Regions from separate parts of the Homo sapiens genome. Here region 1 is linked to region 2. Evidence: promoter capture Hi-C in human tissues and cell types (Jung and others, 2019). All regions are on one chromosome and are shown on one strand. Each heading gives the region's core, a stretch centred on a gene start or on the middle of the fragment in contact. The rest is flanking DNA. Distances are from core to core; before and after follow the strand shown.

Region 1 (4,269 bases), core at 24-2,523, 110 kb after region 2:
CATCTCTTTCCTCCCATTGCCTCCTTCTCCCTCTCCCCACACTGTGTAGCTCCTTAGTCTCTTCTCCTTCAGGCCTCAGCATCCCCTCTCCCTGGTCTGTCCGACTCTCCCCCACCTCAGTCTCCATTTGTGTCATGAAAAATCTATGGGCCCCATCCAGGTGCACAAAAGTCACAGCCAGGCTCTCTCCTGCCCACTCTGCTGTGGAGGTGGAGGGGAGAGCCCTGAGCCCTGAGGATGGAGGCATGGAGAAAAGAAATTAGGATGGTCTTGACTCAAAGTGACAGCTCACTTTTCTTTTCTCTTTCTGATTTTCCTTTGTCAGCCTTGGACATCTGAAAATAAACTGGTCCTCTGGCACCATGAGGGTTAATCTCTGCCATTAACTTCCCCTGGCCTGCAAGAGATGTCCTTCCTGCAGGCACAACAGTGGGACAACATGTTGCTAATAGAGAGTCAGTAACCTGAATTGCATTACAAAACAGCTCCGGTAAATTAGCCTTGGGAAGTGCCCTGCCCACTTGCTGGGTATATTTTTGCTTGTATGTAGCAGGCAGAAGAGGGAAGGGCTGTCCAGCTCCCAAGCAACTCCCGAAACTCTGTCTTCCATTCGGAAGGCTGGACTTTGCATCACTCAACTTTGTTTCTTTTCACACATTCCCGATTCTAACCCTAAATAGATTTAATACAAAATAAACCCCACCCCAGATTAAAATAGTATATTATTTGTGCTTTATATGAGTCTCAGAAATTACTTTCAATAATCTCTGTATAAAGTTTTAAAACCCTAAACTAGAGTTAAACTTGTGGAAAAGAAAGGAAGAAGTGAATGGTTAACACCAATTCACAGTAGGTATTTTACTTTGTAATAATACTGCTGAATTTCTTTCTTTACAAAAAAAAGCATGCATTTATAATCCTTGATGATCACAACAACCCCTTGATAATAAAATTAAGTTTATGACATGCATTACTGAAAACTTTAAAATGAGGCATCTAGAGCCCAGAGTGATTAAGCAACTTACTCAAGGTCACACAGGAAGTGATTAGGAAAGCTGGAACAACTCTTTGGCCTTTTGGATCAGACCTCTATGCTGAAAAAGAATCCTGAGTTTCAAGTCTGGAAGATGAGGAAGGAAGCCGTGATGTTTGGAGACAGAGTGTGCCTTCTATAGCTCAAGATAAAATTCTGTTATAGGAAGAAGCTCAGATTTCTTAAATACCAAGATTTGATCCCAAGTCAATGACCAATAAAAGCTTATTATCTGCAACCATGTCAGACTCTGGCCCAAGAGTTTAATCTTTCTAATCACATATTCTATACATTATTCGAGAAAGAAAGGTCCGGAAAAGCATCCCTAAAGACTCAAATATTCCAAGGAGCAAAAAATATAGATAAGACAAAGCTCCAAAGACTCCTAACAGTGGAAATAGCTGTCAGATGTTATAGAGAAGGGAGCTGATGGGTTCCCACATGCTATTAACAAACCATGAAGAAGTCCCTTAGCCTTTGGACCTGGAGTTCTCAACCCTGGCTGCACATTAGAATCACCTGGGAAGCTTCTGAAACTCCCAATACCCAAGACATACCCAGGACCATTTATATCAGAATCTTCCAGCGATGGAAGCCTGGTGTTGGGAAGTCTTTAAGGCTCCCCAGCTGACTCCAATGTGTAGCCAAGGTTAAGAACCATGGCTCTAGGACCTAACACATAAGTTGAATGAATAGACGGATGAATGAATATCAGCAACAGAATTGAAAAAAGAAGAAACAATTAAGAAACTAAATTTGATGTTATTTACTCAGATGGAAGACCCTGAGGTCCTCACTCAAAATGCGTATGCTGTTCACGCAGAAGCAGTTCTATGAAGTTTGGATGTCAAGATTCTCAGCTCACAACAGGGATGAGAAGAGAAGATGGTTCTCTGTGGAGCAGAGTCACCAACAATAGCAGGAAGGACAAATGTGACAGCCTGAAAGACAAGTAAGAAATGCAAATCCTACTTCTATGGTTGAATGTGTCCCCCTAAATTCATGTGTTGGCAACTGAATCCCCAATGCTAGTTTTGAGAGGTGGGTGGTGTTAATCACCTTTAAGAGGTGATTAGGTCATGAGGCTCTGCCCTTATAAATGGATTAATGTCGTTAGGGTGGGAGAGGGTTAGTTATCGCAAGAGTGGGTTCCTGATAAAAAAGGATGAATTTGGCATCCTTCCCCTTTCTCTTTCTCACATGTACTCTATTGTCCTTCCACCTTCCACCATGGGATGACCAGTAAGGCCCTCACTAGATTGTAGCCACCTTGACCTGGGACTTCCCAGCCTCCAGAATGTAAGAGATAAATCTTTGTTCTTTATAAATTACCGAGTCTTTGGTATTCTATTATAACAACACAGACTAAGACACCTATAAAGCAGGAGACAGAACTCAGCGAAGAGTTGTCTGGGGCCCTTTAATACCAGGGTAAACTGACCTGCCCAGCCCAGTTTCCCTGGAGGCGTCATTGTATTAGCAGAACAGTGCAGTTAATTGGTGTTCGGGTGCCTGAGTCACCCAGCGGAGGCGAAGTTCTGTTCTCTCTACACTGTGTAAGAACTCACAGGAGGATGGGCAGAGCACTCGACTTCCTCAGCACTGGCTATCACAGACTGCCCTTACTAGAACTGCGTCTGTTTTTGAAAGCCTGGGTGGGTTTAATAGTTGGTAAAAGCAGCATGTTAAAGTTGGCAGCAGAAACTGCCTCCTAAGAGAATCACTTCCTAAGAGGGGAATATGAAATTTCTCATTGAGGCAGGCTGTCCCCTTCTGTCCCTTTGTCAGGGAAAGCCTCTCTCTGGGGGAAAGCAAAGGTGGAGCTGGGGTGCATAGACCTCTGTGGAGAGAAAACCTGAATTTGGCAAAGTGGTCCTCTTACAGATTTCTTAGTCTGAGGAGTTAAGCTTTTTCTTGGTTTTGCAAATTCAGTGTCTCTTTTGGCAGACATTTGTTATTAGAAGAGATCTGTACTTTCTCAGCAGGGAGTGACATTGCTCTGTGTCCTTAAGATATTGCCTGTTCTAGGGAGTTGGGTATGTTCTCCAACAAGCTGGAGACCTAGATCTGTATTTCCGTGGGAACAGGAGGCCTCTGCAGACTTGAACTTGACCTCACACTAAAGGAAAGCCTGTGCGAAGGAAGAGGACAATCTTAGAGGCAGTCATTTAAGTCTGAGTGCCCCAGAACACAGGGATGTTGGGTGGCTACTTTCTGGTGCCATTTCATTTGTCCCACTCAAGGCCATAATGCAAGCTTGGGGAGGAGGAACTCCCCTGAGAAAAGAGACCATCCCTGCTGATAATCCTACTAACCTGATTCTAGGTCAGTAAATGAAAACTTGAAAGGTGAATTTCAGACTGGAGAAGGCAGCGGGGAAAGGGACTCAAGTCCGTTTTTCTCGGACCAATGGCAGTGTATGGTAATGTGGGGCTAGCCCTGACATCGGGAAGACAGTTAAGAGCCAAACATGGTGAGGAACTCTGGGGCTGGGTCAAGGCTGGGTCAAGGCTGGAAGCTCAGAGCCACATCTATTTGGAAGTATCAGCTGTTCTTTGGGTTGTATTTTCTTTTTTCTGTCCCCTGAACAATATATCAAGGAAGTTTGGCTGCAAGTAACTGCCTGGTCCCTGAGATGCTTTGGGGAGAATGGGGAAGGCAGGTCTGGAAGGGAGCACAAAAGATGGCAAGAGAGTTGCTATGAGCAGGGGTCACCAGCAGAGGGCAGAGGGCAGAGGTGCCCAACGGAGCAGAGAGTGCTCAATGGCCATGGGCGGCAAAGGGTGCAGTGGGGTCGCAGTCAAAATGCAGGCTGAGGGGGACCTGGGCATGTGGGCAACGGCATCATGGCGCTCACAGAACTCTTTAGAGGATACACTGAAGGGCACCAATCCCTGACAATTAGCAAGTCAGGATCGAAGCCAACATAATTCGAGTATTTCATGGAAACAATATCTAACTACAAACAGCTGGGTCTTCAACAGGTGGGAAACACTGGGAATTGAAGACTTGTGTTCAGAAATTCTATCTACCAGCTCCCAGCCATGGGACTTCAGGCAGTTCCCCTGCGCCACCCAGTCTCGGTGCCTCATACGACAAACAGGTGCCTGACATTTACCCTACAGACCTCTTGAGGTTGTTGTTTTAAGTAGCAAAGGCAATAAAGCTCACGTATATTTTGTAAATGGTAAAATACTTTGCAGACTTAACACACTATTTTATCTTGGAAAGTTTTT
Region 2 (4,174 bases), core at 898-3,397:
TCACACAGGTGGCATCTGTGTTGGACAGTAATAACCAAAAGAGTCTTGCTCGGCCCTTAATAACCCACGCAAAGAATCACTAAAAGTTACTAAAATACAGCCACTGGAAAACGACGAATGAACAAAGTGGTTAATGTTCCTTCCCAAAATTATAGCAAGGAAAACTCCACCACCTAATGAAAATCATTAAGAGAATTCAGAGGAGTTAACTGCAGGCAGGCGTGACTTCTCCCCCAGAAAGTAATCAGCTAATAAGCATTAATCATCTTGTGCACAGTCTGCGCATTTATAATAGGGTTTAATAAAGCCTTCAACAACAGGCCCAGAATTAATGAACGGCATCTTAGGTCTAACACAAAAGTATTCCTTAGCGGACGAAAATTAGCGCTTCTACTTCACATTTGCTGTCGTGTCCCCCATATATACGGGCTCGTATTCACTATCCCTGGAGGCTTTATCACGCGTGGTTTTTTTTAGCTTTTGTTCCTGAAAGCAGTTAACCTTCATCGATAACCTACCGTGTGCCGGGTGATCTCCAAACATCCCACTAGTTTTTTCTTTTTTTAGTTTCCCATGGGTAGTGGCAAAATTTTGAAGGCAATGCAACCAGGAAGATGGGAGCGAATATTTTCTCACGCCAACAGGGAGGCCAGTTTCCGGGAGAGGAACTCGGCGGCGTCTGGAGCTACCCAGGAAGAGCTTGCAGCCCCCAAGGGCAGCGCGTGCAGGCCAAGGGGGTCGGGTAGGGTTGAGCGGGTACTCACCGGGCAGAAGCGCGGCCCAAGTCCTCCTTACTTCTGCGTGTCAATCCCCCTTCCCCAATTTGCATCCTTACTGCAATCCAGTCTCCCCCGTACAACCGTCACGGATCTGCGCTCCGAGCACCGCCCCCCCCCGCAACCAGCCACCAACCCCCGGCAGGGACCACAGGCACACGCCTCCGTCGGAAAAGTTGGGCAGACACTTCAGAACTTTTCTTTCACTTTGGGGAGAAGGAGGGAGTTGGAGAAGTGGGGGCGAGGGGTGTTAAAGCACTGGGCCATTCTCTGCAACATCTCCCCGCGCCCCCCAACAAGTTGCCCCTCCTCGTGCACACAGCGAGGTGACAGCGCAGGGCACCAAACTGCTGAGGGAAGGAGATGCCTGCAGCCATCTCAGCGGGGCTGGCGGACGCGACCCGACAGTCACCGGAAAAACAGTGGTGTCGGTCTTCCCCATCACCTCCCCTCCCCATCCCACAATAAAGCGCACGGAAGATGTCTGGGAGTACCTGGCCCTGCCACAGGAGCTGGGGAGGAGAGCGATCTCACCCCCTCCATCCCTCCCGGCAGGTGGGCCGCGGTCAGATACGTTTGGCCCGCAAGTCCTTTTCGGACACGTTGGCATCTGCTCCCAAAGAGCGCCCCAGCAGGACCCGGTCACCGGGGTCTTCCAGAGGGGCGGTAGCCACCGCACAGGAGCCAGCGGCATCCCCCAAGGAGCCGCAAGCCCTACCTGGCTTAACCCCCGGACATGTGTGTCGCTACCGATCGAAGAACCCAAACACCCCGAGATTTCCCTCCTCTAGGCAGGTGAAAACCCCACGGAACTCTCCGCAGCGCTGCCTGCCCAGCCGGCCGTGTCTCGCCGTCCCCGAGGCCTCGGGGGCTCCCAGCACCTCCACCCAAATCCCACCTGTGCGGGCTCGGGAGTCCGAGGGCGCTGACAGCTGCTGCCGCCGCATCCCGGATCTCCAAAGTGCGGCGGGAGCGGCCAGGGAACCTGCAGGACACCGCCGGGCCAAGGGGCTTGGGAAGGTCTGGGGGCCCCCGGCGCCGCACCCCTGCTTACCTGGCGTTCGCTGGGCCCCGGCTGGGGCATCCGCCTGGTGCGCGCCGCTCGGAGCGCTCGCTGCGCACCTGGCCGCTGCCGCCGCCCGCCCGGCCCCAGCCCTGGCCGCCGCGCTAGCGCTGCATGGCGCACGGGGGCTGGCCGGGGGCCCGGGGAAGCGTGTCTAGTTGGCGGCGGCACCTCCGGCTCTCGCGGCTCGCTAGTGGCTCCCCCGCCTTTCCCCGCCCCGCGTCCGTGCACCCTTCCTCTGCAGCCGCCCTTTTGCCTCCGCTCCGCCGGACCGGCCAAACTGGTTTCTCCGCTCGGGGAGGTGCCTCTGGTTTCCCTCCAGCAGCCGCGGCCGCCGAGCCTCGCTGGGGCTGGGGCTGGGGCTGGAGGCGGGCTCGGCCTTCTCCCCTCCCTTTTTCCCTCCCTAGGGCGGAGAGGGGCTGGACTGCAAGCCCCGGGGCGGCCCGAGGCGGCCCAGGTCCAGCTCCTGCCCCACGCCCTCCGTGCGTCCTGGAGTCAGGTGGGCACCCCTTTCAGTCTTCCGAGCCCAGCCTACGAGCCCTTGCCTCGCCCAGCCTGAGACCCAGTTGCTGCGGCTGCTCTTAGCTCCCCGGGGGCCGCACTCGCCACCACACCTCTCCAGCCCAGCGTCACTTTCCCGCTGCCCTTGGCTGGCTTGGCCGTCACCCCGGGTCGAGGACTGAGCCAGCCTGGAAAGCTGGCGGGGCCGCGGCGCGCCCGGGACCTGAGCTCCCTCGGTAAGGGGAGCTGTGTCCTCTTGATGCCAAGTCATGTTTGGGGACCGGTCACCGAATGCGCGTCAAAGTTCGCCGCGTGGAGGGTGAAGAAAGAGGCTGCGCCTCAAGACTTCCAGAAACGTATCCTGTGATTGCAGCCAGCAGGCTTTCTGCCGAGTCCAAACGCTATCGAGTTTTTTTGGGTTTGGAGTCAAAAGGAGTTAAGGTGCGGCCCGTGAACCACGCGGTGTAGGTGGAAATTTTGGACTCAGCGCCTCGTTGCTGGCTGGTGTCTGAGCGGGTGAATCGTGCCTCCCTGGCAGTATAGACATTACCCTCCTTCTTGAGTAGACTTTTGCCGCTCCCCGACTATGGACCGAGTCGTTGGGATAAGAATGGAGGAAAATCAAAGATCAGAGTTTGCTTAAAATGCAGTAGGGGAGCCAGGACTCCCACACGATTCCCAGTCACCTAGAGGCTCACATCTATGCCCAAGAGTCCAGACTCCCAACTGGGTCATCACAGAGGCTTCCTACAGGAGGCCGTGCTTGATGGGACTCAAAGATCCACAGCTTTAAGGATCAGAGTTGTGTAGAGAGGGTATTCAACGGGTGGCCAACTGGTAGAATCTTGTCTGATACCAACCCCGAGGCTGCTCTAGGCTTCTTTTTCATGAGTCAAACTTGATCTCTGACTAGGTGCTGGTCAGTCACTCAATCTATCCAGGCCTCAGTTTCCTCATTTGTAAAATGAGATTGGACCAGATGGTCTCTTCCAGCACTTATATTCTGAAGCTAACGACAGAACAAAGGTACCGATGCAAGAGAACATAGGGCCTGTTGGTGACACTGGTTGATCTAAGACATTTAGACTTGTTTTTGGTAGCACCTGCAAACCGTTGACAATTTAGGACCGAGCATGAGCATGATCAAGGTTGTGTTTTAGGGAAAATAATAGGGAGATAGTCTAGAGAGGATAAAACTGAAGATGGGAGAATCACTTGAGAGGCTGGGACAGCGACATACGGAGGAGTTGCCAGGGGAAGTAAAAAGGAGGAAATTCAAGGGACACCACAGAAGAGAGATAGGGCACGAAGTGGCCACAACCTGCAACTGACTGGGAGAGGGGAGCAATGGAAGGTGAGCCAGGTTCTCAAGACTGGGTTATGGCATGCAAGGAGCAGCAGACTCCAAAGGAGGGAAGCCGTTTAGGAAGACTCTGCCCCTATCTGGATAAATGCCAGCAAACCTAGGAATCAAGAGGGGATTCCAGACTAAAGGGGGCACCCCCTCCTTGCAGATCCACTACCAAGTGCTCAACCTGTCCAAGAAAATGTTACATAGAAGAGACTAAACAAGGACGCATCCAATCTACACCTGTACCTAGATCTGATCAATACCATTCTGATGTCTGCATTTATTTACTTGTTTATTTATTTATAGAGACAGGGTTGGGTTTCACTATGTTGCCCAGGCTTGTCTTGAACTCCCCAGTTCAAGCGGTCCACCTGCCTCAGCCCCCCAAGGTGCTGGGATTACAGTCATGAGCCACCACCTGTACTAAAAATACAAAAATTAGCCAAGCATGGTGGCGGGCGCCTGTGGTCCCAGCTACTCAAG

Evidence for each region. The method cuts DNA at HindIII sites, captures the fragments that hold promoters and counts their contacts. A contact is called where the count stands out against the background at its distance.
Region 1: a contact is called between a fragment that was not itself captured here and the fragment with the promoter of ATP8B1 in region 2, in 2 of the 25 tissues and cell types used here (IMR-90 fibroblasts and heart right ventricle).

The regions. Positions count from the first base shown.
Region 1 is chr18:57,907,246-57,911,514 of GRCh38, forward strand. No RefSeq gene overlaps it. Among named protein-coding and RNA genes, the nearest start is that of LINC01897, 52 kb to the right of the region's middle. The HindIII fragment of the contact is 3,682 bases long and covers 1-3,114 here.
Region 2 is chr18:57,801,168-57,805,341 of GRCh38, forward strand. ATP8B1 (ATPase phospholipid transporting 8B1) reads right to left here and starts at 2,148. Exons shown (of 28, transcript NM_001374385.1): 1 at 1,831-2,148. RefSeq lists an enhancer at 1,768-2,405. The HindIII fragment of the contact is 14,543 bases long and covers 1-4,174 here.